Regions from separate parts of the Homo sapiens genome. Here regions 1, 2, 3, 4, 5 and 7 are each linked to region 6. The links are contacts of gene promoters, found by promoter capture Hi-C in blood cells and fetal thymus (Javierre and others, 2016). All regions are on one chromosome and are shown on one strand. The core of a region is centred on a gene start or on the middle of the fragment in contact, and the rest is flanking DNA. Distances in the headings are between cores, read along the strand shown.

Evidence for each region. Contacts are between HindIII fragments. The CHiCAGO score rates a contact against its expected background, and 5 or more counts as called.
Region 1: a contact is called between a fragment that was not itself captured here and the fragment with the promoter of CWC22 in region 6, in 2 of 17 cell types (total CD4 T cells and total B cells). The highest score is 5.2, in total CD4 T cells.
Region 2: a contact is called between a fragment that was not itself captured here and the fragment with the promoter of CWC22 in region 6, in 1 of 17 cell types (monocytes). The highest score is 8.1, in monocytes.
Region 3: a contact is called between the fragment with the promoter of ITGA4 here and the fragment with the promoter of CWC22 in region 6, in 4 of 17 cell types (total B cells, naive CD4 T cells, non-activated CD4 T cells and 1 more). The highest score is 7.8, in total B cells.
Region 4: a fragment that was not itself captured here is called in contact with the fragment with the promoter of CWC22 in region 6 in 8 of 17 cell types (total B cells, total CD8 T cells, non-activated CD4 T cells and 5 more); the score reaches 12.9 in total B cells.
Region 5: a fragment that was not itself captured here is called in contact with the fragment with the promoter of CWC22 in region 6 in 2 of 17 cell types (non-activated CD4 T cells and monocytes); the score reaches 6.9 in non-activated CD4 T cells.
Region 7: a contact is called between a fragment that was not itself captured here and the fragment with the promoter of CWC22 in region 6, in 2 of 17 cell types (activated CD4 T cells and naive CD8 T cells). The highest score is 5.3, in activated CD4 T cells.

What each region holds. Positions count from the first base shown.
Region 1 is chr2:181,714,630-181,717,427 of GRCh38, reverse strand. No RefSeq gene overlaps it. Among named protein-coding and RNA genes, the nearest start is that of NEUROD1, 36 kb to the right of the region's middle. RefSeq lists an enhancer at 2,273-2,322. The HindIII fragment of the contact is 1,322 bases long and covers 861-2,182 here.
Region 2 is chr2:181,472,631-181,475,582 of GRCh38, reverse strand. It overlaps ITGA4 (integrin subunit alpha 4), which reads right to left. Exons shown (of 28, transcript NM_000885.6): 3 at 517-623; 4 at 295-424. Among named protein-coding and RNA genes, the nearest start is that of ITGA4, 17 kb to the right of the region's middle. The HindIII fragment of the contact is 5,302 bases long and covers 1-2,952 here.
Region 3 is chr2:181,456,040-181,458,852 of GRCh38, reverse strand. It overlaps ITGA4 (integrin subunit alpha 4), which reads right to left and starts at 1,467. Exons shown (of 28, transcript NM_000885.6): 1 at 1,002-1,467; 2 at 536-657. The coding sequence starts at 1,198. RefSeq lists enhancers at 421-470, 831-880, 941-1,130, 1,851-1,960 and a silencer at 1,281-1,670. The HindIII fragment of the contact is 9,740 bases long and covers 1-2,813 here.
Region 4 is chr2:181,896,120-181,898,819 of GRCh38, reverse strand. It overlaps ITPRID2 (ITPR interacting domain containing 2), which reads right to left. Exons shown (of 18, transcript NM_001130445.3): 4 at 1,856-1,912. Among named protein-coding and RNA genes, the nearest start is that of ITPRID2, 5.7 kb to the right of the region's middle. The HindIII fragment of the contact is 264 bases long and covers 1,250-1,513 here.
Region 5 is chr2:178,526,960-178,529,873 of GRCh38, reverse strand. It overlaps TTN (titin), which reads left to right. Exons shown (of 363, transcript NM_001267550.2): 360 at 655-1,346; 361 at 1,447-1,600; 362 at 2,126-2,428; 363 at 2,567-2,914. The coding sequence ends at 2,862. All of the region lies in intron 1 of TTN-AS1 (TTN antisense RNA 1), which reads right to left. Among named protein-coding and RNA genes, the nearest start is that of TTN-AS1, 5.2 kb to the right of the region's middle. The HindIII fragment of the contact is 1,358 bases long and covers 825-2,182 here.
Region 6 is chr2:180,005,880-180,008,579 of GRCh38, reverse strand. CWC22 (CWC22 spliceosome associated protein) reads left to right here and starts at 1,283. Exons shown (of 20, transcript NM_020943.3): 1 at 1,283-1,713. RefSeq lists an enhancer at 1,603-2,135. The HindIII fragment of the contact is 3,569 bases long and covers 1-2,700 here.
Region 7 is chr2:178,109,666-178,112,391 of GRCh38, reverse strand. No RefSeq gene overlaps it. Among named protein-coding and RNA genes, the nearest start is that of RBM45, 1.4 kb to the left of the region's middle. The HindIII fragment of the contact is 1,028 bases long and covers 737-1,764 here.

The DNA.
Region 1 (2,798 bases), core at 272-2,771, 1.7 Mb before region 6:
GAATGAACATTTACAGTGTATATCATTAGATTGCAAACTTCTTCAGAGCAAGAACTGTGTCTCAATTTTCTATTCCTAATGTGTAGCACACACAAGGCCCTCAGTGAGTATTAAAGCGTACAGTGTTTCACACACGTGATTTCTCTGATACCCCAACAATCCTATTTGGTGGCTATTACAGCCATTTTTCAGCTGAGTAAATTAAAGTTCAGATAATTTAAATGAATTGCCCAGAGTCATATAGTCAGTGACAGTGTTCAGCCTGGAACCAGGGTTTCAGACTCTAAGCCGTATGCTTGTCCCTGTTGCTGGTGCCACCCACTTGCTGGTCATCCCATTGACTTGCCTGCGGGCCTGTTAGCTGGCCTCAGCTTCAGGAGACCATTGCAGCACCATGTTCTGTGCACCCACCTCTGCCTGAATGAACAGAGTGAAATATGTCATTTATTTCTGCTTCTGCTGTGTTGTAAGTGTGTTTTCAACATTATTTTCAGAGACCATGGCTCTTTATCTCTAGGCTTGATCCTAAAAACAATTGTGAAGAGGACAATGGTAAATTCCCGGATTCCTCCAGGCTCATCTGTGGCAGTGCCAGTCTCTCCCACACTCACCCTCTGAAGTCTCAAGGACCTGTGTTGTCACATGTGGCCCAAGCAGTTCCAAGACTCTCGAACCATTAAAAAGAACTTCTGCACTCCAGAGAATCATTCCGGGTTCTGCCCTCTGCCTTCAGTTCCAAATCTTTTGCTCTCTGAATCTTCTACTGAATTATTGGCTTGATTCTTGATTGGAGGTTTATTTCAGGTCTGTGCCATAAGGATATTTTCAATTTAAGGGTAGTTTGAGGTTTCTATCAAGCTTGTCGGGTTTAGAGGGTGAATGCCTGAGTTAGAATTCATTTCTATAAGTTTACTTTAAAGGAGAGTGTAAGACCTTGGGCAAATTATTTCATTCTCTGTTTTTGTTTCCTGATCTGTAAAATACAGATATTAAAAATACTCATTCATTTAAAAAGTGTCCATAGGTTGTTATGAGGATTACGTGAAATAACCCATGTAAAGCACCTGGTCTGTTGTAAACACGTAATTACTATAAGATACTATACCTTCTGTGTATACCCTCTTTCTGCCCACCTGTCATAAGCCCCATTCAGACTCTAGGAAACCCAAACCCATCATTGATGGGGCGGCCAGGGCCTCAGTTTATACAGAAATGGAATTTAGCTTAACATGTTACCTCTTTCAGGATTGAAAGGAACTCTGGGATTTAAGATTCCTCAACCCAAGGCATACATTCTAATGAGAAAAGTTTAGAAAGAAAGCCCATTTGTGAGTGAATGCTGCAAGATGGTAGAAAGCATTTGCCTCCATGTAAAAGCCAAGCAGTTTACCTCCCAGTTATTCAGCGAGGCCATGCCAAATGCTCAGTGTAGGTTAAACACCACATCCAGCACAGAAAGGTGGCAGATACATTATGACAAACACATGTATATGTGTGTGTCTTTATAGCCCAACTCTGCACAAAGAAAAGGTGGAGCTTACTCAAATAGAATAATTACAAGCTGAGAGGATTTGAAAAATAAAAGTCATCTAGTAAGCTCTATTTGTCTTTCTTATGTGGTTAGCTATGGGTCTACTATTGATTTCTTATTAACAACCTTTTATTTTTAAAATGGAGACTGTATAAATCTATAAGACTGCTTTCCCTGAACCAAAACCTTGGGTACAAAATCTGACAAATGTTTTCCCCCCTACTTTTTATATTCATGCATTTGTAAAGCATTGTGAATGCTTATAAGTTAAATTCCACTTGACCACATATTTAATGAAGCACCTAGTAAAGAACAGAACATAAATATCTAAAATGGGAAAATCACCAGAGAATCTGAATACCAAGGCAAAAAACCTGAAGGGATGGTGCCATAGTTTCTTGTCTCCTCCACAGCAAAAGCTCATTTTCCAGCTCACAGACACTTTCAAACTGGAAGGATTTTGAAGAAAAATCTGCTACCATCTTTTCTATATCCTGTGATAAACTACAGTTCTCATGAAGACAAAGAGTTTGGTCACACAATTGGAGCTGGCAGAAACATTTTTTTCAGCTCCTTATTACCAAACAAGATGGAGTCAGTCAGTGTTCTGTTGTGAGAAACTTGCCTTTCAGTCTGGTTGGTTTATAAGCTTTTAACAAACTGTCCTGAAGATGGCGCCACGTGCTTAGCTATGTTTTCTACCTGTATCATTTGGTGATTTCTGAAACCACTGTCTAAGGAACATACACAGACTTATGGGAAGATCTGTAGGAAATGCCACCTTGAAATGATATTCCTGTGTTAAGTATAGATATAAAACTAAGTCACCCAAGGAACAATTTGATTCAATTATCTTTAAATTTTCAGTTAGGAGAAGGAATTACGGAAAACAAATACAGTCATTGCTGTTCTGAGGTACATCAGTGGCATTTTCTGAAAGCCAAATTCCATCTCTAATCTTGTACTTTCTCCTTTGTTCCCTATTTGTAGCCATCCATCAAGTGGTCGAAGTCAGAAATTTGAATGACGTCTTTGATCCTTCTTTCTATTTTAACCTTCCGTACCAGAAACTCCACATCCCAATCAATCTCCCAGTCCTATCTGTTCTAATCCCTAAATGTCTCAGTTGTGTCCATGTCTGTCTCTGTCCATTCCCACTGCTACCAGTAAAGTTCAACAGCACCATTACCTCCTCCCTGCAGTATTGCACGAGTAGGTTAACTGTTTCCCCTTTCACACAGCTTGCTCCTCTCAATCTGCTCTCTTC
Region 2 (2,952 bases), core at 440-2,939, 1.5 Mb before region 6:
TGGGTACTAGTCTCACCTATACCAAATTGAAAGTAAATTTGATGCAAAAGTGGGTAGTTAAAGAGCTAGATTTCAGAGTTATTCAAATTGTAGAATTTTTATAGCACAAAGTGCATTTATGAAAAATAATGCTATTGCAATTGGGTAAAGAAAGAAATTGAGTAGTTAAAAAGAACATAATTACTTAGAAGATCTCCCTCTCCTCTGAACATCTAAACTTGAACATAAATTTAAAACACTAAAAGGTATTCACTTACTTATCTTTATCTAATTCGTATCAAAATCATGCCTTACCTTGATAACACGGAGCTATTCTTTTACTCAGTTCTGTTCGTAAATCAGGGGGCACTCCATAGCAACCACCAGTGGGGAGCTTATTTTCATTCTTTATGTAAAATATATTTTTCCATCTATGCCCACAAGTCTGAATAAAATAAAAGTAGACCAAATGATGTGAAAGCTGCACCCAGGATAGCTGATTTCACGATGGATCTGTGGACCAGTTCCAATACCTACCACGATGGATCCATTTTCTCCTGGCTGTCTGGAAAGTGTGACCCCCAACCACTGATTGTCTCTCTCTTCCAAACAAGTCTTTCCACAAGGTTCTCCATTAGGGCTACCTATAGCATGTGAAAATAATTTTATCAGTTGTATTGAAAACATTCTACAAAAGAAGAGAAAACTGTGCACTCATCCCCAGTATTTTTCTGTTAACTACTTCTCTATCTTATATTCAGTGCACAATGTGAGGATAAATGTGAATTACTCTGTGCCAACTAATTATTCTCTAATACAAGGTGACTTTGGTTGTAGAAATGACCTCTGACTGGTAGCACCATAAAAAGATAGACTCAATCATATAAGAGATAGCTAACAGGACTAGGAGTGGGGAAAACCACTTAAAGCTAATACCAGGTTGTGCAACTATAACTGCTGTGTCTAACGTTTGGAAAAGAATTAGCCATTTATCTAACAACGTAAGCAATATTATCAGAGCACTTTTAAAAATGTTTCTTCTACTGAGATATTAAGAATAGAAAGACTATAATACATCCTCAGCAATTAAGGTACAATTTATTGGAGCTGGAAGGTGATGATTAAGCATGCAGAAAGTGGAACATACAATTAGCATACCAATAATGCCTTGCGTTTATAAGAAACTGCCCTATGTTTACATTTATTGGAATATGACTCATGTTTTCAACAGAGATAAAAGTGATTTGGAAACCAGATTATCTCAGTAGTAAACAAAAAACTTCAATAGATACTTTGGCAAATGCATGAATAGCCAAACATAAATAAAATGCTCATGTACTAGATAGTACTTCTATACTATATAAGAAGTGGTCTTCACAGTGATCATTATTTTCTTTTGTTAGAAAAAATTATTTGTGTTATAGCTGGGTTCCTATTAAAATCCCATGTTAAGTAATTTTAAATAAGTTACTTTGGGGAAGAGTAAGATGCAGTATCCTAATATTCTTTTTGCTGTCTTTCTTTTCACCCTCTTCAGTTGGCATATGACAATTCTATTGCATCTGTTCTTAATTCCTGGCAGATAAATACATTAGCATCAATTTGATTGGATAAGGATGTGGAACTTCGGTTTGTTAATTTTGAACACTAGTCACTAGGTACCAAGTTTTCATGAATTTATGGTGACCATTCTCTATATCATTGGCACTTTGTCTCCTCCTATAATGTTGACCCCTAAATGTAGCTTCCTGGGCAAACTCAGAACACTTACAGAGATACAAACTAATATTTTTATTTTGGTACCAATGGGGGTCTCACTATGTTACCCATACTGGTCTTGAACTCTTGCCTCAAGTGATCCTCTTGCTTTGACCTCCTAAAGTGCTGGGATTACCAGCATAAGCCACTATGCCTGGTAAGGCTAATATTTGAGAAGTGAAATTATTTGCACTAAGTCTCCTGGGTAGGAGAGATTTTGTTTAAGGAGTGTGGGAAGATGTTTGTTTATACTTTCGTTTTCTAAAATGTCATTCAGGAAAAACAAAACCTTTAATCACAACTGAAGTGAAGAAAATGTTTGAGCTCCTCCTCTGGAGATTCTGCTCCAGCAGATCCAGGTGAGGCCCTGATTACCCTAGGTCAGTGGTTCCCAATCTTTTTGGCACCAAGGACTGGTTTCGTGAAGACAATTTTTTCCATGGGCAGTAGTAAGGTTTGGAATGAAACTGTTCCACCTCAGATCATCTGGCATTAGATTCTGCTAAGGAAAGCACAACCTAGATCCCACGGCTGTGCAGTTCGTAATAGGGTTTGCACTCCTACGAGAATCTAATGCCACCACTGATCTGACAGAGGCAAAGCTCAGGCGGGAATGCTCACTGGTCCACTGCTCACCTCCTGCTGTGCAGCCCAGTTCCTACCAGGCCACGGGCCAGTACCCATCCACAGCCCAGGGATTGGGGACCCCTGCCCTAAGTGGTTCTCATGGTCAGGAACACTGTTACTGTGAAATGCAGAGAATGTTTTTCTCGACAGCATACACATAGAATAAATGGCAACCCCCACTAACTGGTAATGGCTTCCTGGAGAACTAGACTGAAGGGAGGAGGACTAAGACTAGGTCTGGACAAAGAATGCTGGGGTTGATTGGCAATGGTTGCTATTAGAATTGGAAAGGAGTCTTGCTGTGGCCCAAACCTTGGTAAAGAACAGTCCAGGTGGACACATAAGGTCTCCGTGTTAACTTGAGAAAGGAAGGGATGAAGAGAGAAATGACACGAAAAGAGAAGGGGAAAACAGAGGGAAGATGGTAGGAGAAAAAAAATTGTGTGTGGGAGATAGGTAAGGTCTAAAATAGGGAGTTGTTATTGTGGCTACCTAATGCCAAACCAACAAAATTTAAATTAAAAGAGAATGACAAACAAGGCATTTTAATTTTCATTATAATACAATTTTCAGTTTTCACTAAAATCA
Region 3 (2,813 bases), core at 218-2,717, 1.5 Mb before region 6:
TTAACGATGAAGATGCCAATTTTCCTTTTCTTTTAGATTGTATATTGTAAGTAAAACTATCACTTTTTTTTTTAGGCCTTTAGGTTAAACGACGGGATATGGGATCAATTCCAATTGCTATTCCTGATATGCTCCTTAGCCTGTTCTTTAAGAGGGTTGATAGGTCAAAGATGGAAATAAAATTCTCAAGTCTTGGCTTAGCTGGATCCTGTCCTTAATACGCTGAGAGAGTCTAAAATGTGCTTTACACACGGAGAGACGGGGAGAGATGAAGAGAAGGTATCATAAGAAATTTCTCTAGCATAGTTGTCAGAGTACTGCAATCATTGCCATAAGGAAAAGGGAGAACGATATTAACAGAAAGGGAATCCCTTTTATATTAAGGAGGCAAGATGAGATGGAGTTGAAACTGAAAACTTTATGCTCTTTAAACCAGAAGTAACAGGCAACGTGAATCTTTCCAGGACTTGCCCTATGGTGGGGTCCACATGGGGGGTCGGGAGGTCACTAACTCCTGGTCCCATACCCAACTCACCCAGCTGGAGCTGTTCGCACGTCTGGCCGGGATTCTTTCCGATCCTGCATCTGTAAATCGCCCCGGGATTGATCACTGAAGCGTTGGCGAGCCAGTTGGCAGTGGGCGCACCCACTAGGAGCCTAAAGCGAGACACGTGCACGTGCGCTCAGACGTGAGCTGTGCTGCCCACTGAGCTCCCTGTCGCCACAGATGTGCAGTCCGCAGCAGGGCAGCTTCCCCACCTCCTCCTCCGCCCACCACCCCCGACTCGAAGCTCCAAGACCTTGCACCATAACGCACCCGGGGCGCTGCCGCCCCAAGATAAGTTAGTTTCCCTGGCAGATTTCCAGCGAGCTGGCTCTCGCAGCGTTTCCCTCCTGCCTCCTTGGGAGGGAGGAAAGTTTGAATCGGGCAGGGAATCCCTAGGGCGCCATTCTCACGCCGCTCTGAGCTGCTGAGGGCGCATCAGTCCAACTCTACTCACCATCGGTTCGCCCCGTGGCTGTGCAGCACGACCGAGTAGCCGAACAGCGTGTTGTGGGGGCCCTGGTAAAGCAGCGCGCTCTCAGTGTCCACGTTGTAGGGGCGGCCGGTCGGGACCCCCAGGCACAGCAACAGCATCACCGTCTCCCGGACGGCGGCCCTTCGGGGGCCGGGTTCGCGCCTCGCTTCCCAAGCCATGCGCTCTCGGTGGGGAACATTCAACACTAAACGGCCACTACCCCAAAGTTGCACGGGATGCGACGGTTGGCCAACGGGGAAGAACGCCCCAAGAGATGAGGCGCAGCGTGTCCGGCGCCAGCGGGCTAAAGGAAGGAGAGAGGGAAGAGGAGGGGAAGTCGGCCCACCGCGGGCGGAGCGTTCGGGCCGGCCTGGGATGCCGCGCACTCGCCCGGCCCCACTCCCGGTTTCTGCCGCCAGCCGGGAGCTTCGGGTGCTCGCGCTGCTTCTCCGGGTACGGGCCGCTGGGTGGGGTCCCGGGCGTGGTGCGGAGGCGCAGGGCCGGGCTCCGTCTCTGCCTACGCGCGGCTGCAGGGGGCGCTGGGGAACCTCGGCTGCGCAGGACTCGCGTCCTGGCCCGGGCCTCCCAGCCCGCAGAGCGCGGGATGGCTCTGGGCTCAGCAAGAGCGGACCTGATGGGGCACGGGCTTCCCCTTTTAACGGTGGTTGGGGCCTAGAAGCGGAGCTGTGTGACCCCAAACTGCGCGCCCCTCGCTGTGACCGCCCAGCCCGGCGTGGCCCAAATGCCAGCCACAAACTCGGGGAGTGGGACTGCGGCGGGGAGCCGTCCAGTTCTTTCGTTGATAGTTAAACACTGTGTCTTGTTTTTCAGGTGTAGGCAACCACTAGATAAATTATCAAGAGCCACAGATTAAAAACAAAAAACCAAACAAAAAGACTCGCCGAAGGCCCCTGGGGAACATTTTAGTGACAAAGACGTTATGGCTATTCTCTTCAAGACCCACATCTCAGCACCCTTCTATACCCACTTCCTTCCTCCCCACACTTCCTCTGCAGCCCGGGCTGCATGCGTGAGCAGGCTAGCAGCAGCCTCTCAGGCTGAACGGCAGGCGGTTTAGGCTGTGGCTGACCCCAACAGAGAGGTTGGGTTAAGGAAGCACTGTGACTTGATTCACTTTAACCGATTCGGATTGCTCCAGCTGGTAATTGATGATCCCCCCTTTTCACGCACCCACTCAGTTGCCACGGGACACACCTGCTTTTAGGGGTGTAAACCCCAGTGTGGGGTCAGGGTCCTAATGAGCCTCTGAAATGTGCCGGAGACCCACAACGCAACACACCTGAACTGGGTAGTGAGTCTCATTCTAATGCAATCCAGGTGTGCCCTGCCTTTTTTTTTTTTTTCCTTCAGCAACCAGAGAGACAGCCATAGGTGATTATTAGACTGATATTTTCAGGAGATGAAAGTCTAGTTTTTTATTGTTGCTATATGTAAAAAGAAAAGAAAAGTCTGCATCAAAGAGTGTGTCTGTGTGCTAAAACCATGCTGGAATAAATAACACATCTGACACTAATGACAGATACACAATTAAAATGCTTATTCATTTATTCAGCACATTCATGGAGCAGGCACTTGACTAGGACCACAGGATTCCACCAAGAGTAAGGCAGGACTGATACAAAGTTTCAAAAAATGTTCGCTCCAATGGTAGATAGAAAAATTTGTACTAACTAGAGAAAGATCCAGGTAAGGACACTTAAAGAGAGATTTGAAGGACCAGGAATCTTGAATCAGGCTAAGAATGGGATGAGCAATAAGGAGGGCTCCAGAGGA
Region 4 (2,700 bases), core at 132-2,631, 1.9 Mb before region 6:
ACAATTATCAAGAAATCTAATTACCTACAATATTAGAATTAAATGCCAAATATATTAAACACTTATCTTGGTCCATTAAATCTGCATTATTAAAAGTGATATACAGATAGATAAGAACAGGGCCAGGAGCTTTTGAAGGGTGTTTTTGTGTTGTGGCAACATGAAACTAACTACTCTCACTTGAGTGCTTAAAATAAAAAAACGTATAGGGAACCAGTTAAATTTCTTTAACAGGTTAGAAATAAGTAATGAGGAAGATATGTACCATATATGTGGTACTAATTATTAAATTTAAAAGCTATTAATGAATAATATCTTAAGAGGAAAACATGATTTAACATTAAGTGTGGCAATAGTATATGTCAGTTTCTAATGTGAATTTTTTTTAAGGTTATAACTGATTTTTCACACATATAACATGAAAATTTCTACTTATTTCAATATAAACTTTCTTTTAAAAATTGCCTTTCAACTTTATGATAGAACTTTAGCTTAAAGTTCTAAACAGGTAAGTGTTAATGTTTAAAGTTAAATTTATAGACAAATACAAAGAATAAAATTAATTATAAACACATCTATTTCAGCACACATGAATTGCTTTTCATTTCTGATCTACAAAGTTATGACAATTTTGTGTTTCTTTGTACATCCACCAGAAAGGTGCCTAACTCACAGCACTCAGTAATTATTTACTTAATGAATGGAAATAGCCTTGAAATAATTTTCAGTAAAACAACATAATAGATTTACTCTTTCATGAGACTCCTTTTTAGGTTCTGGTTTCCAATAAAATCATTCAATATTATCAAACTACCAAGGCAAATATCAAAAGTGCAAAGTGCATTTTAATAACGGATTGACAACATGTTCAATTGTACTGAGTGGGAATCAGTAAGTTTAAGCTCTTTATAGAGCTTGAAAATATATGAACAGAAATAATAAGAACTAATATATTTGCATATTCCAGAGTTTTAAATGTTAGAAGGTTCTAAATAAGTAATTTACTTTACAGATGCATTTGAAACAGGAAAAAATCAAGAATATTAAATTCAATGTATAAATTCACTATTCACCAACTTGTAAGCTTTAAAGACTTTTTAAAAATCCTTGTTTTTTTTAAAAAAGTACACATTAATAACTGAGCTATACAGCTATGAATAATCTATGCAATTTGATCAATGAGCTATAAAATAGCTTTTAAAACACCAGTAAAATAATTAAAAATTCTTATTTTTTGTACAAGAAAGCTTTATTATAAATCTACTGGAAAACATTACATAACTTGTAAAAACTTTTAAATAGCACAACACACTTTTTAAAATCTAATGCTTTCTGGAATAAACACCAGCATGATTTCTAATAAAATTCTATTAGCTCTGCTATTTTGTCTTTCCCCTTTAATTTTCTAAAAATCAGGAAAATGGGGAAAAGACAGGAGACACTTAAATGCAAAGAGAAAGACAAGCTGCAGCTGTAAGTATGACATAAGTCTATTTTGCGCTAAAAATAAGCTTCAATTTTGTTTTCCCATGTATAAATATTTAAGTGTCCTTCCTTTTTCAGGACAATTCTTCCCTCAGTTATATTACCACGGTTTGTTACAAACTGTTCCTTTAAGCATTTAGTCCAAGAAAGACAGATGGACACTTCACATAGTTTTTCAGAGTCATCCCTACATGTATCCTACAGACTATGACTAGATTATTAACAAAGAAAGGTAATGTAAAATATGCCTGAGCCATTTTCAAGACCTTTAAATTTAGCTTGAGGATCATAAACCTGAAACCATTCAGCTTTCTCATTTTTTTTAAATTTGAAAACTACACAAAAATACAGTTCTTCCAAACAAACATACCTTCAGCTCCCAATGACAAATCATCTTCAAAACTTCCTCCATTTCTCACAAGCACACCTGAAAGACACATTTGAAAACTCATCCTGGTGTTCTGTTCCTCTCCACCCTCATATAAAATCACTGTTTTAGTTAAATTCACCCAGCAAAATATCTTATACAGTAAAATCTTTCAGACTTGAATGTACTCAGACATTATTCTGATTATATAACTTCAAGAAGCAGGTATAAGCTTTTACTTTAACGTAAAGAAACCACTTTTCCAGCAACATAAAGTTCTCAGAAGCCAACCTATAGGCTGTTTTAAACTTATATTTTTGAAGATGTTCAATCAGACTACATACCAAGAGTTTCATGGAAAACCAGATCCTGGAGCAAATATTCTTCTTATCCATCTCATATTAAGTCAGGAGCTGGATTTTCCTGACACTGTAAATGTTTTTTTATATGCCTTGCCACTGCCTGCACATGCTTGTTGTACTTTGAACTTTAGAATTCTGTCTTGAACAGGTGGTAAAATTTTAGGTGTGGCAATTTCAGTAAATGTAAGCAAAGAAATGCTGCACGAAAGTTGACTAAACTTTTGTTCACTCAATAAGTATTTTCCTTATATTTGCATATTATATATTCATATTTAATTAGTCTTTATAATACCTAACTGGACAATAAAGATATAAGTTTCACGTTGTGAAAAGGCTAGGCAATTTGCTTAAACTCCCTACTGTTTTACGGTTTATAACAAAGTTTCTCCATTTTGCTTCTAGCTCAGAATAGCATATACTATAAACATGAATATCACTTTTATAAGTCATATATACACTTTTACCCAGAGGACAAAGAAGTAGAAC
Region 5 (2,914 bases), core at 254-2,753, 1.5 Mb after region 6:
CAAGAAAGTATTAAAATAAAATTATTTTCCTAATTCCAGAATACAATTTGTACACCAAAGCAGAAACACACATTTGAAGTTAGCATATGCTTTTCTATGAGCATAAAAAGCAGTTATTAAGTACCTAGTTATATGTGGTATTATATAAGATTCCATAGTGTCAGCCCCTGCTCCCAGGAATATTTAAGAATAAAGTCAGTGAATATACAAAATGGCACTACTTGCCTAAACCTTCACAGTTGCTAATTTTCCAAAGCAGTGCAAAGTTAATTAAAGAACTATTTCTATTTTACCAATTAAAATTAGTTTGCTTTCATTTCAATCTTCTGAAAGATAATTTAATGTTTTGGTTACTCAAAATCTCCCAAATCCACTTATCTCCTAAATCCGTTGACTATTCTTTTCAAGACTTTTTTCCTTAAGTCATATGAATCATCTTTGGCTCAGTTTAGTTTAAGGAATCATTACAGTGATCTCAAAAGTCACACATGATAATTTTCCAAAAGTGGAACTGAGAAAGTATTAGGTATTACCTACATTGCATGAAGAAGTTGACTTTTTTTCTTTTTATGTTTTTCACACGCAGAATCTAGAAGAGTAAAAGGTGGGGGTCTCTTTCTAATTAAGTTTGCCTTACAGAGGTTTCTTTTTTAGCTATAAAAGATACTGAGGCACAGAAAGTCTCTACACAAAAGACTTCTGAAATTACACCTCAGAAGAAAGCTGTTGTCCAAGAGGAAATTTCCCAAAAAGCCCTAAGGTCTGAAGAAATTAAGATGTCAGAGGCAAAATCTCAAGAAAAGTTAGCCCTCAAAGAGGAAGCTTCAAAGGTTCTGATTTCTGAAGAAGTCAAGAAATCAGCAGCAACCTCCCTGGAAAAATCCATTGTCCATGAGGAAATCACTAAAACATCACAGGCATCAGAAGAAGTCAGAACTCATGCTGAGATTAAAGCATTTTCTACTCAGATGAGCATAAACGAAGGTCAAAGACTGGTTTTAAAAGCCAACATTGCTGGTGCCACTGATGTGAAATGGGTACTGAATGGCGTAGAGCTTACCAACTCTGAGGAGTACCGATATGGTGTCTCAGGCAGCGATCAGACCCTAACCATCAAGCAAGCCAGTCACAGAGATGAAGGAATCCTCACCTGCATAAGCAAAACCAAGGAAGGAATCGTCAAGTGTCAGTATGATTTGACACTGAGCAAAGAACTCTCAGATGCTCCAGCCTTCATCTCACAGCCTAGATCTCAAAATATTAATGAAGGACAAAATGTTCTCTTTACTTGTGAAATCAGTGGCGAGCCATCCCCTGAAATCGAATGGTTTAAAAACAACCTGCCAGTAAGTTTAATTATGAATATATTATTGAAGAAAAACTAAAATACCATGTCTTCCACATCTGAAGAACTTCAACATTTCTTTTCTTTTTCCTTTGTCTTAGATTTCTATTTCTTCAAATGTCAGCATAAGCCGCTCCAGAAATGTATACTCCCTTGAAATCCGAAATGCATCAGTCAGCGACAGTGGAAAGTACACAATTAAGGCCAAAAATTTCCGTGGCCAGTGTTCAGCTACAGCTTCCTTAATGGTCCTTCGTAAGTATCTCCTCACCCTTCTTCCTTACATGTTTAAGGCCTTTAGATCGTTTTTTTGCCTCTCTTTCAAGCACAGAAAACTCTAAGAAGCCTTATTAAATTCCATGTGAAAGAGGGACAGCCAACTGATGTGAATTCATTCTTGTAGTCAAACTTTCTTTATAGCTACACAGAAACTTGGATAGATTACATTTCAAAGTAAAGCTACCAACTGCCGTGTAACATTTATTTGCAGGATGCACAATATGTCAATTACTTTCTATATGACTAATCATTTTTCTCCTAGTGATTCCTAGCACCTGCATGTAATGTAATGATAGAAATATAAGGATTCATGTTTTGGAGACATTGAGCTAGCTCTTGACAAATGTATGTATATATGTATTTGCTTATGCTTCAACAGCAAATTGTTTGGGTTATGCTGCTGTGTGTGTGTTGAAGTTTCCATTTCTGTAAGTCAGCGTCATATGTCATCAATTAACCAGATGTCATTGATGTTCACTGTGTATCTGCTATGCTCCACAGCTCTAGTTGAAGAACCTTCCAGAGAGGTAGTATTGAGAACAAGTGGTGACACAAGCTTGCAAGGAAGCTTCTCGTCTCAGTCAGTCCAAATGTCTGCCTCCAAGCAGGAGGCCTCCTTCAGCAGTTTCAGCAGCAGCAGTGCTAGCAGCATGACTGAGATGAAATTTGCAAGCATGTCTGCCCAAAGCATGTCCTCCATGCAAGAGTCCTTTGTAGAAATGAGTTCCAGCAGCTTTATGGGAATATCTAATATGACACAACTGGAAAGCTCAACTAGTAAAATGCTTAAAGCAGGCATAAGAGGTGAGCAATAAAATTACTGGTAGAGGTAGACAAGCCAAGTAACATGGTGTAGTCTTTAGTACACACAATTCAGTAGAAAGCAAATCTTTATTTTTTTCAGTGATTCTAAGACCTTTTTTTTGTCATTGTTCCATAAAGGAATTCCGCCTAAAATTGAAGCTCTTCCATCTGATATCAGCATTGATGAAGGCAAAGTTCTAACAGTAGCCTGTGCTTTCACGGGTGAGCCTACCCCAGAAGTAACATGGTCCTGTGGTGGAAGAAAAATCCACAGTCAAGAACAGGGGAGGTTCCACATTGAAAACACAGATGACCTGACAACCCTGATCATCATGGACGTACAGAAACAAGATGGTGGACTTTATACCCTGAGTTTAGGGAATGAATTTGGATCTGACTCTGCCACTGTGAATATACATATTCGATCCATTTAAGAGGGCCTGTGCCCTTATACTCTACACTCATTCTTAACTTTTCGCAAACGTT
Region 6 (2,700 bases), core at 34-2,533:
CAGTCTTGCCTTTTCATATTTTTCTGCCTGCTTTATATTCGATGGTAGCTGATTAGATTGTTCCCACCAGATTAAGGGTGAGTCTGTCTTCCCCAGTCCACTGACTCAACTGTTAATCTCCTTTGGCAACACCCTCACAGATACACCCAGGATCAATACTTTGCATCCTTCAATCCAATCAAGTTGACATTCAGAATTAACCATCACCGGTAGTATTGTGGGTTTTTAAATATATGAATACAAATGTTCATCTCCAGATCCATCTCCTGTGCCCTGTATTGGTGCACCAAAATGCACCATCAACAATGGCCAAATATCTTAAATATGAAATAAAATAGATAACACTATTGTATACTAGCAATTATCTTAAATGCATCTTGTGTATCAACTAATTCAATTCTTAAAACTACTGCCTGGATGGATACTATTGGTATTTCCATTTAACAGATCAGGAAACGGCCACAGAATGTGAAGTTACTTGCCCCAGTCATCCATAAATAATAAAAGGACTCAAGATTCAAAATAAGTAGTCCAACTGCAGTGTTTTTATTCTTAATCATCACACTCTGCCTCCAGAAAGGAGTGGAAGCACAGCACCCTAAAACTGTAATAGAGAAGTGTGTGGAGAAACCAGTCCTGGTTTATGAAAGATTTGATAACATAAAGATATTCTTGGTTTAGGAAGAGAGTTTCCAAAATAGCAAGTAGTTGAACTTTTAGGTTTTGTTACTAGTGAAAAGTGAAGTTTAAAGAAACTGTTTGATGCCCTAGTTCTGCACGCTGTACAAACTGCTACTTCCTACTCAGCCAGGCAATCTCTTTATTCTCAGGTCATACCAGTTGGTACCTTAACCTAAAAGAGAGGCAACACAGTCTCTATAGAATTAGTTTTTCCTCATTATTTCACTCTATTTATGATTTAATATTCTCCCATTCTTATGGCCTGGATATCTTGGAATTTATTAGGCACTTAACTGTTGGTCAAACTCTTATAAAGTCTCAGGAAAATCTCTCTCTTAAGATTTTTCAAGGAAAGTGACAACTGACTGCTTTTTTAAAAAAAATTTCCCCAAAATGCAGTGAAATAGTTTTAAAGTAAATTCGGCTAGACCCTGAACACTACTAGGCTGCCAGTGAGCAGCGTGGATGTTAACTCGCTGGCGCGCATCTGTATGAACTACAATTCCCATCGTACACCGCGCCATTTCACGCTAAACTACAATTATGCTTTCCTCATTTCCGTCAGCACAGGCGCTGGATTTCGGACTTTGTAGTTCATGCCAACTTCTCTTTTTTGTCGCCATTTTGGCAACAAGACAGTGTGCCTGGATCGACTACTTTGACTCTGGTATTATGATATGGTATTTGAAATAAATTAAAGGGATAACGTGTCAAGCCAATTGAGCGTCAAGTTTTTAAATATTTCACTATTCGCCTTCTTCCTACCGTCGGTGCTCGGGAAGAGGAAGTGACGTACGTCCGGTGTAATGGCGGCGCGGTGGAGCTCTAGGTAATTATCGAACTCCGTGGAGTCCCCGCAGGCAGAGACGCGGAGTGGGGGTGGCGGGTCGCCGGATCGGGTGGGAAGTAAAAGACCCCCAGGAGTGGGTGCGGGCTCACTGATACGGCTGTGAGCGGCATTGGAGTGTGCGTGGGTCTTCTCGCTACGCTCGGGCCCGCAAGAGGGGTGTGAGAGCGGCTAGGTCCAAGCAGGTGGGGAGGGAATGGGCTGCCATGAACTGACTGCCTGAGCGGACCGGCTGACCTTCCTTGTGAAGTTCCTGGAGCTGTCTGAAATCCTGCACCAACGCTGGTGCTGTGTTGTTTCTTGTGCACTGCGTTTTATACTTAGAGCCTCTGGAGTCCATTGGGGCTTGCCAAAGCCCCTTTCCTAGTGCCCGGGTCCCAGGGTCAGGGGAGTGGGATTAATGAGATCTAGTTGATTAAAAGTTAGTTGAATTACTTGCACTCTTATGCCTCTTGCCGGCATTATATCCCTTTGACTATTTGTTTTAAATTTCATTAGCGTCTTCTTTTTCATTTATTTGCCCTGTAAATACTGATAGTGTCTAGTGTTTAGTCTTGAAGACACTTCGCTTCTCATGTGCCCGCTTCATCTGTCATTCTTGATCCTTCCATAACTTGAACTATCTCCAGTGAGGTAATAACTGCCAAACTTGGGTCTCCAGGCTCCACCTCTCTAACGAGCTCTGGGTCCTACAACACAGCATTATATAACGGAAATATAATAGTTAATTTCACTGAGTTTAACTGCAAAAACCACGGTACCTATTTCCATTTAATCCTAACAATTCTTCTGAGGTAAGTGGAGAAGGCAGGATTTGGAGAAAGGCTATTCTAGATGCAAGAATTAGGTAAGAGTTTCCTTTGCATTTTTAGATGTGCAGAGACTCGAAATAGCAGATAAGCAAGCAAACTTGGTTCTCAGCAGATCAGTTAACCTACCTCTTATCTGTATTTAGACTTACCTTGTTTTAGGATTGCTTGTGAATTCAGGAGTTAACATAAATTATCATCCTACTATGGAAGGGCAGATTTAAAATTGACATTAAAAGTGTGGTTTTGACCAGGAGAGGAGAAGCATTGTTACAGGCGTTATCAGTAGGTGGAGGAAAGCCACTTGTGTTGGTCCTGGGTGATGGACTAGTAGACCAAAGATTTCTGTTTTATCCAGCTATT
Region 7 (2,726 bases), core at 1-2,500, 1.9 Mb after region 6:
GCCTTCCGGGGAGCGGCCTGCAGCGCCCCCTGGCGACGCGGGGGACCCTGACCCAGTCTAAGTCTCAAATCCTCAAATCCAGCTGAGCCTAGGCCCAAGTTATCAGTTGTGCAATCGTTCCCTGCAGGCAGAACAGCGCTGCCTAATGCACAGGCTTTCCCAACGCTGGCTTTACCCCACCCCTAAGGCCAAGGATTCTTTCCAGTGTTAAAGAAAAAATTATTCATGACACTCGTTAGAGATGGTACAGGAAGGCCGACTTTGACAAAGGGAGCCATGGAGATAGGTCCAGGGACAGCTGCAATGGGGTCTTGCAGTGGGAGAGAGAGATTGGACTGAATTTTGACTCTAATAAGGACAAATTTCTAACCAAGAAGCTTGGTGGGAGGTCAGTGGATGGAAAATTACAAAGAGGGAACATCAGTGTTAAGGAGGATTCTGGCTAAACCAACTTGACAGGATAGTTGCTGAAGGCAGGCCAGGGTGATTGATATCCATGGTAGTCAGACACCAAGAATGAGGATTTTCACTACACTGATTCAGCAGGATTCTTGCTCAAATTGGATTCTACAAGGACAGAAAGCCCAAGATCAAGCCTAGTCAAGCAGAGGACTCAAAGGAGCCTAACTAAGTTTTGGTCAAAGTGGAGAGTTGTCACCATCTTGGTCATAAGCTCAATAGATGATCAATATAGGACAGAGTTCAAACTATATAGCATTAGAGTTGGAAGGAAGCTTTGAGATCATTCAATTTCAGCGTCATTTGTTAGAGATGAGGAAACTGAGGCCTATAGCATAGCCAAAGTAATAGAGATAAAAAGTACGACTAAAACCAGAACTAACTTGGCCAGGCGCAGTGGCTCACGTCTGTGATCCCAGCACTTTGGGAGGCCGAGGCGGGCGGATCACGAGGTCAGGAGATCGAGACCATCCTGGCTAACACGGTGAAACCCCGTCTCTACCAAAAAAATACAAAAAAATTAGTTTGGCGTGGTGGCGGGCACCTGTAGTCCCAGCTACTCAGGAGGCTGAGGCAGGAGAATGGTGTGAACCCAGGAGGCACAGCTTGCAGTGAGCAGAGTTTGCACCACTGCACTCCAGCCTGGGGGATAGAGCGAGACTCCACCTCAAACAACAACAACAACAACAAAAAACCCAGAACTAACTCCATCTGTTGATTTACTCAACTTCTACAAGCAACCCTGGGGTTGGAGGGCAGTGAGGGTGGACTGCTCAGCTGTGGAACTAAGAGAAATCATAGAGTGCAAGCAAAGTGGGAAATGCCTTCTTGTTAACAAGCCTTAGAGGAGAGGTCAGAAACCCAGTAGAAATCCAGAAACAAGGCCTGGATTTAGCAGTGGCATTGGAATGAAGTGAAAGGAATAAACCCCTAAGTAGACCGAGGGCGGAGTTCTTCAAATGAACAAGTTCTGGATGCTAAGACCTAGGTTGCTATGAAGTCAACCAGATAAATACTTATTGTACTCCAACTGTGTGCCAGGCTCTATGCCAGGAGCTAGATATATAATGAGGAACAGGAAAGACATGTCCCGAGGGCTTGTTTTCCCCCACTGTGGAAATCTTACATGTAAATATATAATGCAAAGTAATATCAGATTATGTTACATGGTTTTGCTACTGAATTGTGTGAGCCTGGACAAGTTACTTAATACTTGCAGCTTCGGTTTCATTAACTGTAAAGTAGGAATAATATTACCTACTAAATAGGTAATACATATTATTTTGTGGTTGGATTAGTTAAGCTTGATAGCCGCCTAATAGCTACGCAGGAGCATGACTATCAAGTTTAATTAATTCACCCATTCACTTAATAAGTATTTTTGACTATCTACTATGTGTTAGGCACTGTGTTATACTGAAGGGATGTAGTATTGAACAAAATAATTACTCTTCTTCCCCCACAGAGTTAATCATTTAGCCTTATATAGTTATGCTCATATAAGATAATATATATGGAGTTCATAGTTTAGAGATCAAATGAGATAATATTTGTATAATGGTATAATTGAGATTAATTTTCTTGTTCCCTTTGACTATGGTATCCACTCCCCCACCACTGATATTATACAGTTGTGTGATGACTACTGAGAGTCAGGGATTGTGGGTTGTCACCCTGGATTTAGCACTAAGATTTTTATAATTTCTCCTTGTATTACATTCCATATCTGTAGTGAGGGTTCTGTTTACCCTGAGGCTGAACAACTCTAGGAAGTATCTTTTCTTGACTTTCCATTTCTCTTTTTCCTACCCACAACAATCAAGGTAAATGAAAATAATTTGATAGTGTGAGTTTTGTTGATGAGAGGAACTGCAAAGCAATATTATTTGCAAACCAGTGCCATCTAGTGGAAAATGTGTAATTTTCTTAAATTGTCCTGACTGGGCAATCTCTATTCTTTGTGAAATAAGACTACTGATTGGTGTCCTGAAAATTTTAGGCTGTTATTGAGAACAGTTAATTCTTTTCTCAAAAAAAGATAAAAGATTGCATAAAACAAAACCAGGAACGCAAATATTGGAAAATGCCAGAAAAGCAAAATTTCTTTACTATCCAATTATGTGAAATATGACATATTCAAGGAAAATTAGAAATTTACTTATAAATTAAAAAAAGTAAGTACATTTTCTTCATGACATGTATTTATTTTAAACAGATTTATTGAGATATAATTCTTCTTCTTATCTTATTTTTTCTTTTCTTTTTTT